Linked DNA regions of Homo sapiens: regions 2 and 3 are each linked to region 1. Evidence: promoter capture Hi-C in 16 types of primary human blood cells and fetal thymus (Javierre and others, 2016). All regions are on one chromosome and are shown on one strand. The core of a region is centred on a gene start or on the middle of the fragment in contact, and the rest is flanking DNA. Distances in the headings are between cores, read along the strand shown. Region 1 holds the start of RWDD4 (RWD domain containing 4). Region 2 overlaps CASP3 (caspase 3). Region 3 overlaps DCTD (dCMP deaminase).

Region 1 (4,989 bases), core at 1,015-3,514:
AGTGAGCGGAGATCGCGCCACTGCACTCCAGCCTGGGCGACAGAGCGAGGAGACTCCGTCTCAAAAAAAAAAAAAAAAAAAAAAAAAGGTAATCTACACCAGTATACCAGTATATTATGGAGAAGTCTAACACAATCTTTGTGAAAAGTGAGGCACACTTAGGCTAATACCTAATCCCCAAAACATGGAATATTTTCAACTGAAAGGTTAATTTAGGAAAGACTATTAGTCTTCTCATGTTTACATACTGAAAGAACAACAGGTATTCAATAAATGATTTGCAAAGCTTGCCAGAAATGTCTACAACAGATTGTTTTAGAATTGTTTAAATATTTTTAGGACAGGATTAAGTTATGAGGGCAAAGGATTGCATGTTCAGAGAAAGAAACAGTCTAGTTCTGGGTAATGTAGGAATGAAAATTAAAAAGGGGTGACCAGGCTGGGTACAGCGGCTCACGCCTGTAATCCCAGCACTTTGGGAGGCCAAGGCGGGCGATTCACGAGGTCAACGGTTCAAAACCAGCCTGGCCAATAGGGTGAAACCCCGTCTCTACTAAAAATACAAAAATTAGCCGGGCATGGTGATGCGTGCCTATAGTCCCAGCTACTCGGGAGGCTGAGGCAGGAGAATGGCTTGAACCCGGGAGGCGGAGATTTCAGTGAGCCGAGATCGCACCACTGCACTCCAGCCTGGGCAACAGAGCAAGACTCCGTCTCAACAACAACAACAAAAAACAAGTGACCAAAATACAATACGGGCCCCTTTGCTTAATATGAACGAGTCTAGACTAGAGGCCATTTCCTGTAATAACTCCAGAGGCCCAAAAGACATAGCTGTGGTCTTTAAATATGGAGTTGAAATAAGAGGAACTAAAAATGACTGTCATCCAATAGAAATACAAGTCACATAAATAAATTAAAAATTTCTAGCAGTCATATTAAAAAGTAAAACGTGGATGGAATTCATTTTAATATTCAATTTAACGCAGTACAGTATGTCCAAAATATTATCATACTGACAATAATATAAAAGTTATTAATGACATATTTTACCTTTTTTTGTACTGAGTCTTCAAAATCTGGTGTGTATTTCACACTCACAGCACATCTCAATTCAGACTAGCCTATTTCAAATGCCTGATGTAGCTACTGGCTACAGAACTGGACAGCAGAGATCTAAATTATGGGAAATGTGTCCCAAAATTGCTGCACGAAAATTGTATCAGAAAGTCTTGCCACATTCTCCTATGTCACCTGAAATGGTCGTGCTTATTCTGCAGCAAAGGAATTTGAATGAGAACCCCGATAACGCACAGGCGCAGATCGAATGGATTTCAATGACAGGCTGGAAGGAGAAATTTTCAGATATCCAATGGAGCAACCAACGAAACTATACACGAAAGGAGGCGCAGCTATAGAAGGTGAATAATGGATGGGAGATCAAGTAATGCAAGGGAAGTAAACTGGAAACTAGCGTGAAAGATAAGAAAGGTGACCCAATCAAATTGGCAACTAAAAAAACCCCAAAACCTAATGTGGTTACTTTTTTTTTCTTTTAACTAACTGGAAGTTCAGGGTGTTAGGACACAAGGCTGCTAAGAATGGGATTCAGAGATGTTCAACTACAAAACGAACAAAAGAGGAACGACAGTGTGGGGACGAAATGATGTTTCGATGTTAAAGATGAGAAGCAACAATCCAACGTAGGAGAAACACCGTCCCCATGGTCCCAGTATCTGTTCTGGTAGCTCCAGTGAGGAAAGGTAGAGAAATAACCTTGCAGTCCCTAAAGGCAGATATCTTCCTCCTCTTATTCCCCCGTCTTAAACCTGGGAGGCCCTAGAAACGGGTGCGTCTTTCCTCGGGTCTAAAAGAGAAGTGCCAGGATTGCACCCGTCGATGGGATTGCAAAACGCAGGCCCCCAAACCAGCATTGTTAAGAGCTAGCTCTCTTCCTCGGCGGTCCCGCCTGGCCCCGCGGGTCTCCGGGCCCGGACTCACCCAGGCCCCACGCCCCGGGCCCGCTGCAGCTGAGGCCGGTCGCCGCCAGCCGGGAGAAGACGAGGGGAGGCGGGGGGATGTCACAGAACGCCGTGGCCCGTCCCCACCGCCGCAGCCCCACAGCCAGTTCCAACAGGCGAGACTTCCCTGTACCCACCTCCCCCGGCACAGGAAGCACTTTCTGGGCCTGAGTGACCGCGCTCTACACCAATCGCTGTCCCGGAACTTTACGCCGCTCCTCCAAGCGTCAGGGAGACGCTGCACTTCCCAGGCCCCACCAGCCGCGGCTCCGGCTCGTAGCCCACAGCCCACTGCCGGCGGCTGGGCGCTGCCGAGGCTCGGGGCGCGCGCAGTTGGCGTCTGCCAGTGCCAAGACTGTGCCGCCCCCACAGCCGAGGCGCGAAAGGGGGACGCCCGGCCTCTGGGCCGCTGCCTTCGCTTTCTCTTCGTTGTTGCGAACGCCGTCCGCTCAGGAGGCGCCCCGCGACCGGCGCGATGAGTGCCAACGAGGACCAGGAGGTGAGCCCCCCGGCTCAGGGCCCTCTCCCAGCGCGGGCGCGGCGCGCAGCCCCGGGCCCCCGTGAGACCTGGTGCCCGGACAGCCTGCCCGGCACGTGCCCTGTGCCCTCGGAGCCGGCCGGGGTGCCCCGAGTTCACCGGCGTCCCACCCAAGCGCGCGTGAATGGCCAGGAGTCCGCCTCTGCCACTCTTCCCCCCTCATTTTTCATTTTTGCAAATCCGGGAGTCTCCCCTGGTTACTTAATAACAGGGATGAGCGTCCTTGGTGCACGATCCAGTGCTCTTGGCTCTCCTTGAATCCCATGTGTTCAGTGCCTGTTTACTGAGTTAGGCTGATCACCTTTAAATTTTAGTCTGGTCATCTTTAAATCTCTTGGCTAGTAGAGGGCTAATTGAGTTAGTTACATTTCTCATGGAAGAAAATGACACTGGTGGTGCATCTGAGTTTCTGTCCATATTGTTTGGGGAAATCTTTTACCCATCTGTCTGTTTTGAGCATTCATGTACCACCTGAATTTATGGTTTATGCTCAAATATTTCCTTGTGAGATGCCATTTTGACATTGAATCATATAATATTAGAGTTGGGGGGTGGGTGCTACGGGCCATCTGTAGGGGAACCTTCTAACTTTGATAGGTGGGTCGATGATAGCCGCAGGGCTGCACAGTAAGTACGTGGTAGAATCGGGACTAGAAACCAGGTCTTATTGGGTGGTAGATAAGTTCACTGTTAATTTAAAGTATAATGCTTGAAACTTACTACTTTTACATGATAAATGTAATAGAATCTCTGGATTGGAAGTTAACCTTTAAAGGACCCAAAGTCCAACAAGCTAGCTAGTTGATATCTGAATCTCTTCTAAAATATTCTTGCCGGGTGAATTTCTAAGTGAATGCGTTAATAGCTTCTTCTCCCTGCAAAGCAAAGAACATACAGTGTAATGTTTCTCAGAGTTGGACCATAGTCCCCTACCTTAGAACCATTTAGATGGTTGCTAGAAAACAGATGCGTGCACTCCACCCCAGACCTACTGAATCAGAATTTCTGTGGTGGGCCCAGGAATCTCCAGTTTAACAAGAAAATTTCATTCTTCTTTCAGATGACCGATGTTCTGATCTTTGAAGATAGTTTCCTGCCCAGTTTCTCAGACCTTCTCTGAGGAAGTGGTTCCTTTTAGCTTGTCTTCATATATCCATTCTTTGTTAATCTCTTCACTATCCTGGAATCACGTGTTTGTGGACAGATTTTAATTTTTTAAATGTCCTGTTTCAAAATTGTGGCATCTTGCTGTTTTGTCTAGTTAAATTTACTGTCAACTGAAATCTTTTAAGTGCTTTATACAAAGCAATTTGTCTTTCATCTTCAACTTCTACATTTAGGTATCTGAGTATTGATACAAGTTCTACTTACCCTGCTAAATTTCATCATTAGCTTGCTTTTCAAAGACTTTTTGGATTCTTATTCAGCCATCAGCATTATTCACTGTCCCAACAAATTGTCATCCACAAATTTAATAAACTTGCCTCCTATTTTTGTACCTGTCCAAGTCATAAATTAAAATATGGGAAAGGATTAGGGACAGAAGGAGTAGTACTATATCTTGAGTAAGGTTTTTGTTCCAATCTAATCTTAGTTATTCTTGAATCCGGCTTGAATTTCTGTATTTTGTTTTTTTTTGTTTTTTCTGTAAAGGTAGCAAGAGAAACCTGTGGAGCCTGGCTGAAATCTATATAGTCGGTGTTTTATGCCTTTCTTCATTGTGCCAATCAAGTTTCCCTATCTAAGAAGGGTATATCTTGTTTTTCATATACTTACTAGGTCTTAGGGTCTACTCCTTAATGTCCCAGTTCCTCACACACTGTTTCTTCAACAATGTCTTTTTGCTGTTGTTGTTGCTATTTTTGAGACGGAGCCTCGCTCTGTAGCCCAGGCTGGATTGCAGTGGCCCGATCTCGGCTCACTGCAACCTCCGCCTCCTGGGTTCAAGCGATTCTCTTGCCTCAGCCTCCTGAGTAGCTGGGACTACAGGCGCCCATCACCACACCTGGCTAATTTTTGTGTCTTTAGTAGAGATGGGGTTTCACCGTGTTGGCCAGGCTGACCTCGAACTCCTGACCTCAGGTGATCCGCCCGCCTCGGCCTCCCAAAGTGCTGGGATTACAGATGTGAGCCACCGCGCCCAGCCAATAATTTCTATTCTAAAATTTTGACTGTAGATCAAGCCCACTTTCACCATCTTTAGTTTGTAGAATTCATGACATGCATCTTTTTGAAAAACTTAAACGTGTACCCAAGTGCAGTCTTGCTTTACTTCTTTTCTCAGGTATTCATCGGTGATCACAGTGATGAACTTCTCAGTTGTAATACCAAAATGTTCTAAGAACTATGTCCAAGCAAGGATTACTAGTTACATTTTCTCTGACAGTCCTGTCTCATCTTGGGTAGATACTTGTCAGCCTTTTTCTTAAG
Region 2 (4,989 bases), core at 1,172-3,671, 990 kb before region 1:
GCTACCGCCGGCGGAGGAGTGGCCCCGGGAAGCGGTGCTGCGAGGGCTGGGGCGGCCGGGTGCTGACTGTGAGATACTCGCCCTGGGGGCTGATCCTTCCAATTTTGGACGAGGCTTCCGTCTCTGCTGCCTTCCATGCCTGGGGCCTGGATTATCCCGGGTTGACAATGTGGTTTAGCTCTTCCAGAGAGATAGTTGCAGGGTTTAAACTCCAATTCCTTTTCGGCCCTGCAGAGTTTCGTGAGTGCTCGCAGCTCATACCTGTGGCTGTGTATCCGTGGCCACAGCTGGTTGGCGTCGCCTTGAAATCCCAGGCCGTGAGGAGTTAGCGAGCCCTGCTCACACTCGGCGCTCTGGTTTTCGGTGGGTGTGCCCTGCACCTGCCTCTTCCCCCATTCTCAGTAAGTGGCACCCAAGCAGGAAACCGGAAAACATCGTTCGCAGCCCCCTCTCGCCCACCCACTTCTTTTCCTGCTTAGTCGCCAAGCCTTGTCGACCTTGTAAATGTCTGCCAGATCTGTCCGCGTCTCTCTATCTCTGATTTCAGCCGTCTGACCACAGCAGCCTCTTCCCTGGTCTCTCCACTTCCAGACCCGCCTGCTCCTTTGCAGTCCACTTTTTACAGCACAGGCAGAGGGATCTTTATGAAATGAAAGTCTAGAAAGCTCGTCCTTTGCCCTTAGGTTAAACCCAGCACTTAATATGGCTAACAAACCCCTGCGTGTGTTGGGTCCTGAGTGCCCCCACCCCTCCTTATCTTTAGCACCGGTTCGATTTCTGCACGGCAATGCTGACCTTCATACCTAGTGTCTGCCTGCAACACCTCTGCACTCCCTTTCTCCCGCCATCACATTTGATTAGAAGAGCTGCTACTTAAATTTCTGTTTTCATTAAACAGTTTAAGGTTAAATCTTCCTATGCTGTGTTCTTTCTGCAGCCAGCATTCCCTAAGAGAGATGTGTCATATCCTTTGCAGTTGCTTGTTTACTATCTTCCCTGCTAGATTTGCAAGCAAACTCCAGGAGGGACGGACTTGGTTTATCTTGGTATCCTTAGTGTCTTGCCCCAAATGCGGGGCCTGGCATAACACAGTGAATGCCCATCCATTGTATTTTTACTTTTATGCCCTATCTAGAAAAAGTAGACCTGGTTTAGGATTATTCAGCAAATAATAATTAGAAAAGAAATGGTAGAGGTGACATACGGAGTCACTGAAACGATGTAAACCTGCAAGATAGCTGAAAGAGGGCCAGGCAAGGTGGTTAGACCAGACTGTATCAAAATGGGCTCAGCCACTGTGAATGTGCGTGCTGTGGTTACATAATCTCTAAAAATGAAATATAAAGCTTAAATCATCTCTATCACAGCCCGATGCTTGGACTTTGGTTTTGCTTTGCCTTTTTGCAAAAGAAGGTTTTTGAAAGTGAAAATTATTTTAGTGAATGGATGAACAGTTTATTGGAGTATGGCAATAAAACCTGTTCAAAGTAAGAGACATTAGACATTGTACCTAGTTAAATCAGATTTGCTTTTGCTATCCTGAATAAAGGCCTTGCCTCTTGCCATTTGAAGAGACTGGCATCTGATATAGGCAATTATAATGCTTCTTTACTGTTTTGTTTTCAAACCTCGTTTAACACAATCTCCTACTGCTTCATCCCCCTACAAAGCAGTCTTTATTTTGATGAATGATATATTACATTGCTTCTGGTGCCTACTATTAGATCTTTAAGCTCTGCCCCAAAGATAAGAAGCACTGGTGTTTGGGCCTAAACAAAGATGGGAGAATTCTTAGATTTATATAATATTCTTTCTCTGCATGTTTTGTTCTTACCTTCACATGTTGCCTGTAGAGCTTCTTTGCATTACAATAATGAAATCAAGCTACCTGATATGTATTGGACACGGTCTGGCATCTGCCTTGTTGAGCCACTTTTGAATACCAGTGAGCATCGGTATAAGCCCTGAATAGAGATAGGGTTTGTCTCTTCCACTGCTTGATACACTCAGGGTCTAGTATAGTACTCTGCACACAGTTGGTGTTCAGTAAATTGTTATGGTGCAAATATCAAATGAATAAATGCTACTGAATCTGAGTTTTGGCAGTTTCAGTCTTCCTGACAGCAGGATTTCTTCAAGCGGTTTTAAACTTGAATCTGATTCTGCAAAGTAGTCATCCTTGGTGGGAGTGCTGAGGCTTTAAAGTCATCTGTAATTTTTATAAAAAGGCATCCGAGATCCTCCATTTTACACTTATATCATACAAATCATTTAGATCTGTGAAGGCTTTCCCATTTTCTCCTTTTGTCCTTCCAAAAACACCATCTTAGGACTTCACCTGGCACAGGGAAGACAGATCGTTTGCACATACTAAGTGCCCTTCTTTCTAACTTGTGTCATAAACTCAGAGGCTTTGAATAGTGGAGAGTGCTCTGTACTGTCTTCCTGGTCACGTGGCCCTTGCCAGAGGAAAGGAAAGGATGGTTTGTTTGTATAGTACAATGGAACTTATTTCAATGTATTCTGTATTTGATTTTACATTCCTGTTCTCATATTTTTACCTTAATTACATAACAAATATTAAAAGATTGACTTCACCAGGCCCAGTTACAATCGCCAGTTTGATAATTCTTATACGTACTCAAATGAATTCAGAGACCAGATGGGAAAAGATTTTGATAAAACCTCTGGTACATCACAACTGAAGTCTTTTCTTGTCCAAACTATTGTGAAACAGATGTTCTTTCTGTTTCATTTGCTAAATCTGGAAACGTGACTGCTTTTGAGACTTTGTCCTCTCTGACAGGTAATAAATATAATCCTGATATTTTTCAAGTTGTTTGACAGAAGTGTAATCTCCCCAGAAGTCCTGCTGGACAGGCTTCACTTTTCCTTTGGAGGAACACAGAGATACAGGGAATATGTTTTAATGACATATACCTAACGCTGAACATGAAACCAGTTATTTTACTTTTATTATTATTATTTTTAGAAACAGCCTTGCTGTGTCACCCAAGCTCAAGTGCAGTGGTGCGATCATAGCTCACTGCAGCCTCCAATTCCTATGCTCAAGTAATCCTCTTGCCTCAGCCTCCTGAGTAGCTGGGACTACAGGTGTGTGCCACCATGCCAGGCTACTTGTTTTTACTTTGTTATAGAGATGGGGTCTCTCTGTGTTGCCCAGACTGGTCTTGAACACATGATCTCAACCATTCCTCCCACCTTGGCCTCCCAAAGTGCTGGGATTACAGGCGCGAGCCACTGTGTCTGGCCTATTTCACTTTAGAAGTAAATTGAATGCCACATGCGAAGTTTGTTAAATTTTTTTAAAAAAGGAAAGAAAACACAAAAGTAAACTACCTAGTCGCATCAGAAATGCCATAGTCATTTTTGCCATTTTTTCATTCATTAGAATTCAGTGCATTATGTTATTTTGTTATCTCTGCAGTAACTTTCTATCATGTTATTTATTTTCTTTGTCTTATTTAAAGCTTCTGAGATTATGGATTTTTGTTTCCTTCCCTGAAGTTAAGTGTTATCATTCCTATATAGTACTAAGCTGTCTACAGAATAGTGGGAGTCTGCCCTCTTGAGTTGGGAAGATCCTAGTTTGAATCTTGGCTGTGCGACTTTAAAGTTCATTAACTTCTCTTAGCCTCAGTCACCTGAACTCTGCAGTGGGGATCCTTATGCCTCAGAGTGTCATTGGGAGGACTCACGAAAATACGCTTGTACTTTGAGTTCAGTACCTAGCCTGTATGAGCCAGCATTAAGAGGGACAGTCATCACGCAGCGCTTTGCACACAGCTCTCACGCCACATCCTTTGGCTACTGTTTTGGTAAATCTTTACTAGTAAATGTTTCTTAAAAGCATTTACATTCATGGACATGATTCAGAAACTAACAGTTGTTTTTTAGGTCTCACTTTGAGATTTAAAAACCCTTAGGGCAGAGACCAGATTTTATTTCTTACCTCAGAGTTTCCCTGTAGGACAGGAACCAGCAACAGCCTAATGAGCTGATTAAGAATTTTAGAGATTTAAAATTTAAATTAGGATTGCCAGTTTTAGAGACTGGCACATAAATGTTTTCATTTAAGGCAGTGACTGTTTCCTTTAGGATATGATTTTTTATCTTTCTAAGATGAGATCACCATCCTCAGAATAATTTGTACCCCGCTGGGCACTAGCTAATGGAGGTGATGTCATGCTAAGCAGCACTTCAGTGAGTTTTGCGGGAACCAAAGCTCTGCTCCCAGGAGTGTGGATTTGGTGCTTTCATGTGGAAAAAGCGGATGATGACAAGTAGAGAGCAAATGTGCGCATGTCTGATGCTGTAAGGATTTCCTTTACCATCATATAAATTTTTAAAGTATATCAAAATAAACTGATAACTGAGAAAATATATGTTGTTCAGATACTAATAATGAAGTTAATGAAGTCCACTATAGTATTTGTCCCTGAGAAATCTTTATCAAATATTTTAAATCCTATTGTAAAATAATGTATTTTTTCTTTCAGTTTTAGAGACTGGCAATCCTAATTTAACATCTCCTTTTGAATTCCCCACCACAGGCACACTTTCACACATTCACTCTTTAATAACAGGTTGTTTCAAATTGTTAATACTTTATAGCTTAATATAGAAATTTCACTTTAGAAATTAATTTTTATTTCTCTGCCTTAATGCTATAGATGTTGTAGTCTGCTTTACTTCAGTATTGTAATGAGTAGTTGGCTAACCACCATGTAAATAGGGAGAACATTCTAGTTTTTTACTTGTGTAGGAAAACACAGCTTGAAATGTCTAAGTATCTATTTTAGAGTGAAGTAAATTTATACTGACAATATTTTTTTGTGTTTGAAGACCTGACTGTTACAGCGTTGGTGGCAAGTGTTAAGGGATCCAGGAACTAGACAAGTGATTCTGAGACCTGAGTTCCAGGTTTCTAAGTAATATCAGTTGGTCTACTGAGAACTTTGCCATAAA
Region 3 (4,989 bases), core at 1,813-4,312, 750 kb after region 1:
CTGTCACCCTGATTTTGATTCTATAAGCTTTTGATGGTAAGAAAGAAGGGAAGTGATTAGTTGTTTTTAAGTCCATGCAAAGATAATTTTTCACAGTGCGGTTCAAAGTCCCCTATAAAAATGGTGAAAGTGGAGGGTCGATATGTTAAAGGTCTGCATTGAACTGTGTGACGGCCACAGTCAGTATGTCACCGAGTCTGGGCAGTGAAATATTGGCCCTGGGGCTGGACTTTGATATGGAGGAATTCTGGGGGGATGGCGGTCCGTCATACTCAAGCTGGTGCAAAAGATACCCGTGGTTGGACAGTGCGGAGGGGTCCTGGGTGAGCACTGAGTGGGCCTCCCAATGGGGCCTGTGCCTTCTTCAGTCACCCAGAGCCCCCAGCAGATCTTTAAGCAGTGACCTGGAAGCCAAGGGCCATGCAGTACATTTGCAGCACCTGCCCCACACCCCAGACTTCCCAGCTCTCCTGACTTCCCGTGTAGCTGATTTTGTTGGTTATGAGACACTGCCTTTTGTCCAAATTGAGGAGAGTACCTTTCAGAGCCCCTTTCTAGAAGGAATTTTTTTAAAAACCTGCATAGGTATTTGTCCAACTTCACCGATTGTTTTTTATTGAATAGCTCCTGAGCTCCTGGGCACTGGTTGTCTGTCTGCATTATTTTTTATTATCCATATGATACCTCTAGGTTTTCAAAGCTCTTTGCTCTTACTTATCAATTATTCATTTATATGTAGCTGTGTTAGAATGTCGACAGTTTTCTTTCACGAGAGTAAGCTTGTAATTTGATGTACCATAAAAGTTGTAGAAGGTATTAAATGGTTTCTAAAAGGCATTTAGTATTACTGCCGCCATAATACAGTAAAGATGGGCTTAAAGTCTAAATGACGATGACTGTGTATAAACTGTACACTTGTTGTCTTCTCAAGGTTTTTCAGGCCACAGAGAAGTAAATGTTTGGATTGCCTGGGATGTCACAGAAATGTTTGCTGATAATTGACTCAAATGCAAAGTCTTTTTTTTTTTTTTTGCTTTCGTTTTAAGATTTTCAAAATTAATTTAAAAAATAAGGGGATACTGCCTGGAGTTGGATAGCTCAACCCATTCTTTCCTCATCTACATTAATGGTGACTGAGCTGCTGTAGCAGGAAGGGTAAATTCATAGGTTAATCCCTGTAAAGGAGCTTTAGAGATTATCTCGAGTTCTGGACAATGATTTTTAACTCTTTTGAATGTACAGGACCCTCTTTTAAATGCTGAAAAACTTCCAGGACCCCTGCATAATGCTAAATTCTTAGTATCTTTTGAGTAAGAAACTCCACAATGACAAAAACTACTTCGTATCAGTAACATTTTTTGTTAATCTGAACTTTATTAATTGGATAGCATTTATGTATGTTTGGGAAAAGTTTATGTATGTCCTGGACATGGGATTTATCCAGTTGTGGATATGCTTGGACCCCTTGCAATACCTTAGTAGTGTCTCAGGGTTCTATGCCCACAGGATCTAAGCCTCCTCCTTTCTTGTAAGTAACTTCTATAATGTCACACATGCAGGGTGACATCTCCTAATTCCAAGGTCAGTGCTCTTCCTGCTACCTCCCTGTGTCTCTCCTGTGGGGCACATGAATTCAGCTGTACTGAAATGCCAATCATTGTCTCATTTTTTTTTGCAGTTGATCAGACTGAGGCTCCGATAAAATAATTACTCCTCAGAGATCAGGAGCTCGGGGAGGGGTGGCCTGTGTCCGGCATCATGCAGAAAGCCACATGCGTGGCTCACTGTAACATTTCTTCAAAGGGGAGTGCAGTGGACTGAATGTGTCTCCCCCCAAATTCACATGTTGAAACCCTAATTCCAATGTGCTGATATTTGGAGGTGGGGCCTGGGGGGACGTAATTAGGCCATGAGGGTGGAGCTCTCCTGAATGGGATTAGTGCCCTTCTAAAAGGGACCCCAGGGAGCTCAGTTACTCTTTTTCCATGTGCAAGGATAGGCGGAGAAGATGGCTATCTGCAACCCTGAAAGGAGACCTTGCCAGAATCTAACCATGCTGGTGTCCTGACTTCCAGCCTCCAGAACCATGAGAAATAAATGTCCATTGTTTCTCAGCCACCCAGTCTATGGGACTTTGTTATAGCAGCCCCAAGGGACTGTGACAGGGAGCTTGAGAACTGTGTAAATTTGAGTTTACCAAATAACATACAGCTTAATACTGCTTTATTAATTCCGTAAGTCGGAAGTCATTAGTCCTGATTGATGCCTTGTGGGGAGGAGGGAAACACACACTACTTGTAACATAATAGGAAGATGGAGCTTTTCCTGGGCTGTGTCTCTAGAGAGTTATTTTTAAAGGGTGTTTTTGTTCTTCCAGTCTTGGGATCAAAACTTCATAAAACTATTTTATTATAATGTAGTATTAATGTGGAAAATGAAAATTCCCTCTGCTAAAGAAGCTTTTTATTCCATCCTTTTCCTGAAAAATCCAAAAGATAATATGATGTCAGTAACATTAAGTGGCAGGAAGAAGGCAATGTTATTATACTAAGAATCTTTTCAGATGAATGACAATTAAAAAAGAGGAAGCAGCAGATTTATCTAATTTACAAGATTAAAAAACTTGGGAAGATTTTTATTTTCATGAGGGGGTGGGTTGCTAAACCTGTGATGAAGTATTCAGTTGACATTTTTCATTCCTTTTTCTTTGTGGAATTCATTATAGTGAAGCACATTTAATCAAAATACCAATGTTATCAAATGAGGTAAAATACTCTTGGTGATTCAGATATCACTCTTTCCTTGGGTTTTCGTAACCGATTTTGATGATATAGTTTACAAATTAGAGAGTTGGAGAATTAACTTGTTCCCGTTGTTAAACTTAAGGGAATTTTTAGTAATGCTTGCCACATGTATCCAGCTGCCCAGCACTTGTGGCCTTGCTGATTTCTGCTGGCAAAGGGCTCTGGGTTTTGGTGAGTGCCTCTGTGCTTGGCCTCCTATCCCACCCAATGGACCAGGGAGCCAGGGTTGCTTGGCCTGCTGCATCTCACTGCACCAGGGAGGGAACCGTAGCATCTCAGTGTCCCCAAGAGTCGGGGGAGGCCTCACTCTGAGTGCGTTGGGTAGAAGTGGGGCTCTTACCCGAGTCAGTTCCTATGTCTACAGGGATACTCTAAAAAGGATGTAATGCTGGGAAGGAAAATGCTGAAAAACCTGGAATTAATTAAGGCGAAAGAGTTCAGCAGAGCATCTTAAACACCTTTGCCAGTGTGGGGCAGTGCCTCTTTAAATTCTCTATTTAAATTTCATCTTTATTTTTCAGACTTAGCATATTGTTAAGCATGCATAGATGTCACTTTTGTGATTACTTAGCCATTTACTTTACCCCCTTGAACACTGACATTTTCCTGACTGCCATGCACGTGATATATTTCTTTGGCATCTGAAAGGTTAGTGTTGAGAAACTAATTTATCAAGAAGTTAGGAGGCTGATCCTTCTTAAGATATGACTTCCTCACAACTTGTAAGAGCTTCTTAGTAATTAAGATCAAATTTGTTCTTTCCGTCCTGAAATTGAATGTCCTCTGGTTTCGTTAGTCAGTCCATGAATTTGATAACTTGCTGTTTCTTTTCCTGCAGAATTTAATTTCACTTAAAGCTTCCTGCCGCTCCTCCCCTGCCTGGCCTTCTACTAGTTGTGGCCCGACAGCAGGTCTAATTAGGGACTTTTGTACAAAACTACTGTTATAATCAATGGAAAACCTTTGAACAACTGCATAGAAAAGAAATTAAGTAGATTATTTTTACGAATCAAGGGGCAAACTCAGCTGTGATCGTGTGGGGTTTCAGATAAACAGAGGGACACACCAGTGTATATATGAGTCTTCTCCCACCCACTAAAATCAACCAGCTCCATGTAAGCATGTTTTACTTTAAGATATAATTGTTTATAAACAGTTTTCAGAAAGGAATAAATAATGATATTTTAATATAATTTATTTTGATATTTATGTATTTTTATAGTTACAGAGTTAATTATTTTTAAAGTGCTAGAGTTTACTATTTCATTATGAATATCTATGAAAGACATATAGTAACAAAATAACTCCTTGTTTTGAAGAGCACACATGTTAGGAAAAGCTGAAATGTTTGGGGATTGGACCTACCCATGAAAATACACATATCTGTCTCCTTTCTATAAAAAGTGACTTTTGAGTCAGTTCACCTCGTAGAAGTTTGAAATAAAACTTAATCTAAAGTAGTGGTTCCAGGGTTCCCAGAAGTGGGCTGAAGTTTATCTTTGTACTGTAATCTCTCAAGATAAAAGGTTTGTTGAAAAATTAGTAGCCTTGATAAAATGTCAGGGGCACATGCAAACTAATTTAGAAAACAGCTATGTTAAGTATTTGAGCACATTAATGATCTGAATGCAAATGGATATTCCTTCTTTATTTCTTCTTCTTCTTCTTCTTCTTTTTTTTTTTTTTTTTTTTTTTGAGACAGAGTCTTGCTCTGTCACCCAGGCTGGAGTGCAGTGGCACAATCTTGGCTCACTGCAGCCTCCACCTCCAGGTTTCAAGCGATTCTCCTGCTTCAGCCTCGGAGTAGCTGTGTGATTACAGGCACGTGCCACCACGCCTGGTTAATTTTTGTATTTTTAGTAGAGATGGGGTTTCACCATGTTGGCCAGGCTGGTCTCAAACTCCTGACCTCAGGTGATCCACCCGCCTCAGCCTCCCAAAGTCCTGGGATTACAGGCTTGAGTCACTGTGCCCGGCCACTTCTTTATTTCTTTAACTTTGCTAAGTCTTTGCTTAGAAACACAGGGATTGCTGTACAGTGTGGTTACCTGAGAATGATTACTCTCATAGTCTTGATTCTGGTGATCTGTTCTATGTCAGTTGTGCTGATTTTGACTGATCTTCTCTGAAATTGGCTGAAATGACTAAAGCTTTATTGTATTTTGAGTTTTTTTTAATCCGGAAT

What was found. The method cuts DNA at HindIII sites, captures the fragments that hold promoters and counts their contacts. A CHiCAGO score of 5 or more calls a contact.
Region 2: a fragment that was not itself captured here is called in contact with the fragment with the promoter of RWDD4 in region 1 in 1 of 17 cell types (monocytes); the score reaches 5.0 in monocytes.
Region 3: a fragment that was not itself captured here is called in contact with the fragment with the promoter of RWDD4 in region 1 in 1 of 17 cell types (activated CD4 T cells); the score reaches 5.1 in activated CD4 T cells.

The regions. Positions count from the first base shown.
Region 1 is chr4:183,656,460-183,661,448 of GRCh38, reverse strand. RWDD4 (RWD domain containing 4) reads left to right here and starts at 2,264. Exons shown (of 8, transcript NM_152682.4): 1 at 2,264-2,520. The coding sequence starts at 2,497. It overlaps TRAPPC11 (trafficking protein particle complex subunit 11), which reads right to left and starts at 2,156. Exons shown (of 30, transcript NM_021942.6): 1 at 2,002-2,156. RefSeq lists silencers at 1,845-2,134, 2,505-2,714, 2,529-2,749 and enhancers at 1,481-2,268, 2,225-2,354, 2,269-3,057. The HindIII fragment of the contact is 5,102 bases long and covers 289-4,989 here.
Region 2 is chr4:184,643,877-184,648,865 of GRCh38, reverse strand. CASP3 (caspase 3) reads left to right here. Exons shown (of 8, transcript NM_004346.4): 2 at 235-401. Among named protein-coding and RNA genes, the nearest start is that of CASP3, 3.1 kb to the left of the region's middle. RefSeq lists enhancers at 3,870-4,501, 4,803-4,989. The HindIII fragment of the contact is 2,145 bases long and covers 1,349-3,493 here.
Region 3 is chr4:182,908,193-182,913,181 of GRCh38, reverse strand. The region is part of intron 3 of DCTD (dCMP deaminase); the gene reads left to right. Among named protein-coding and RNA genes, the nearest start is that of DCTD, 6.7 kb to the left of the region's middle. The HindIII fragment of the contact is 1,202 bases long and covers 2,462-3,663 here.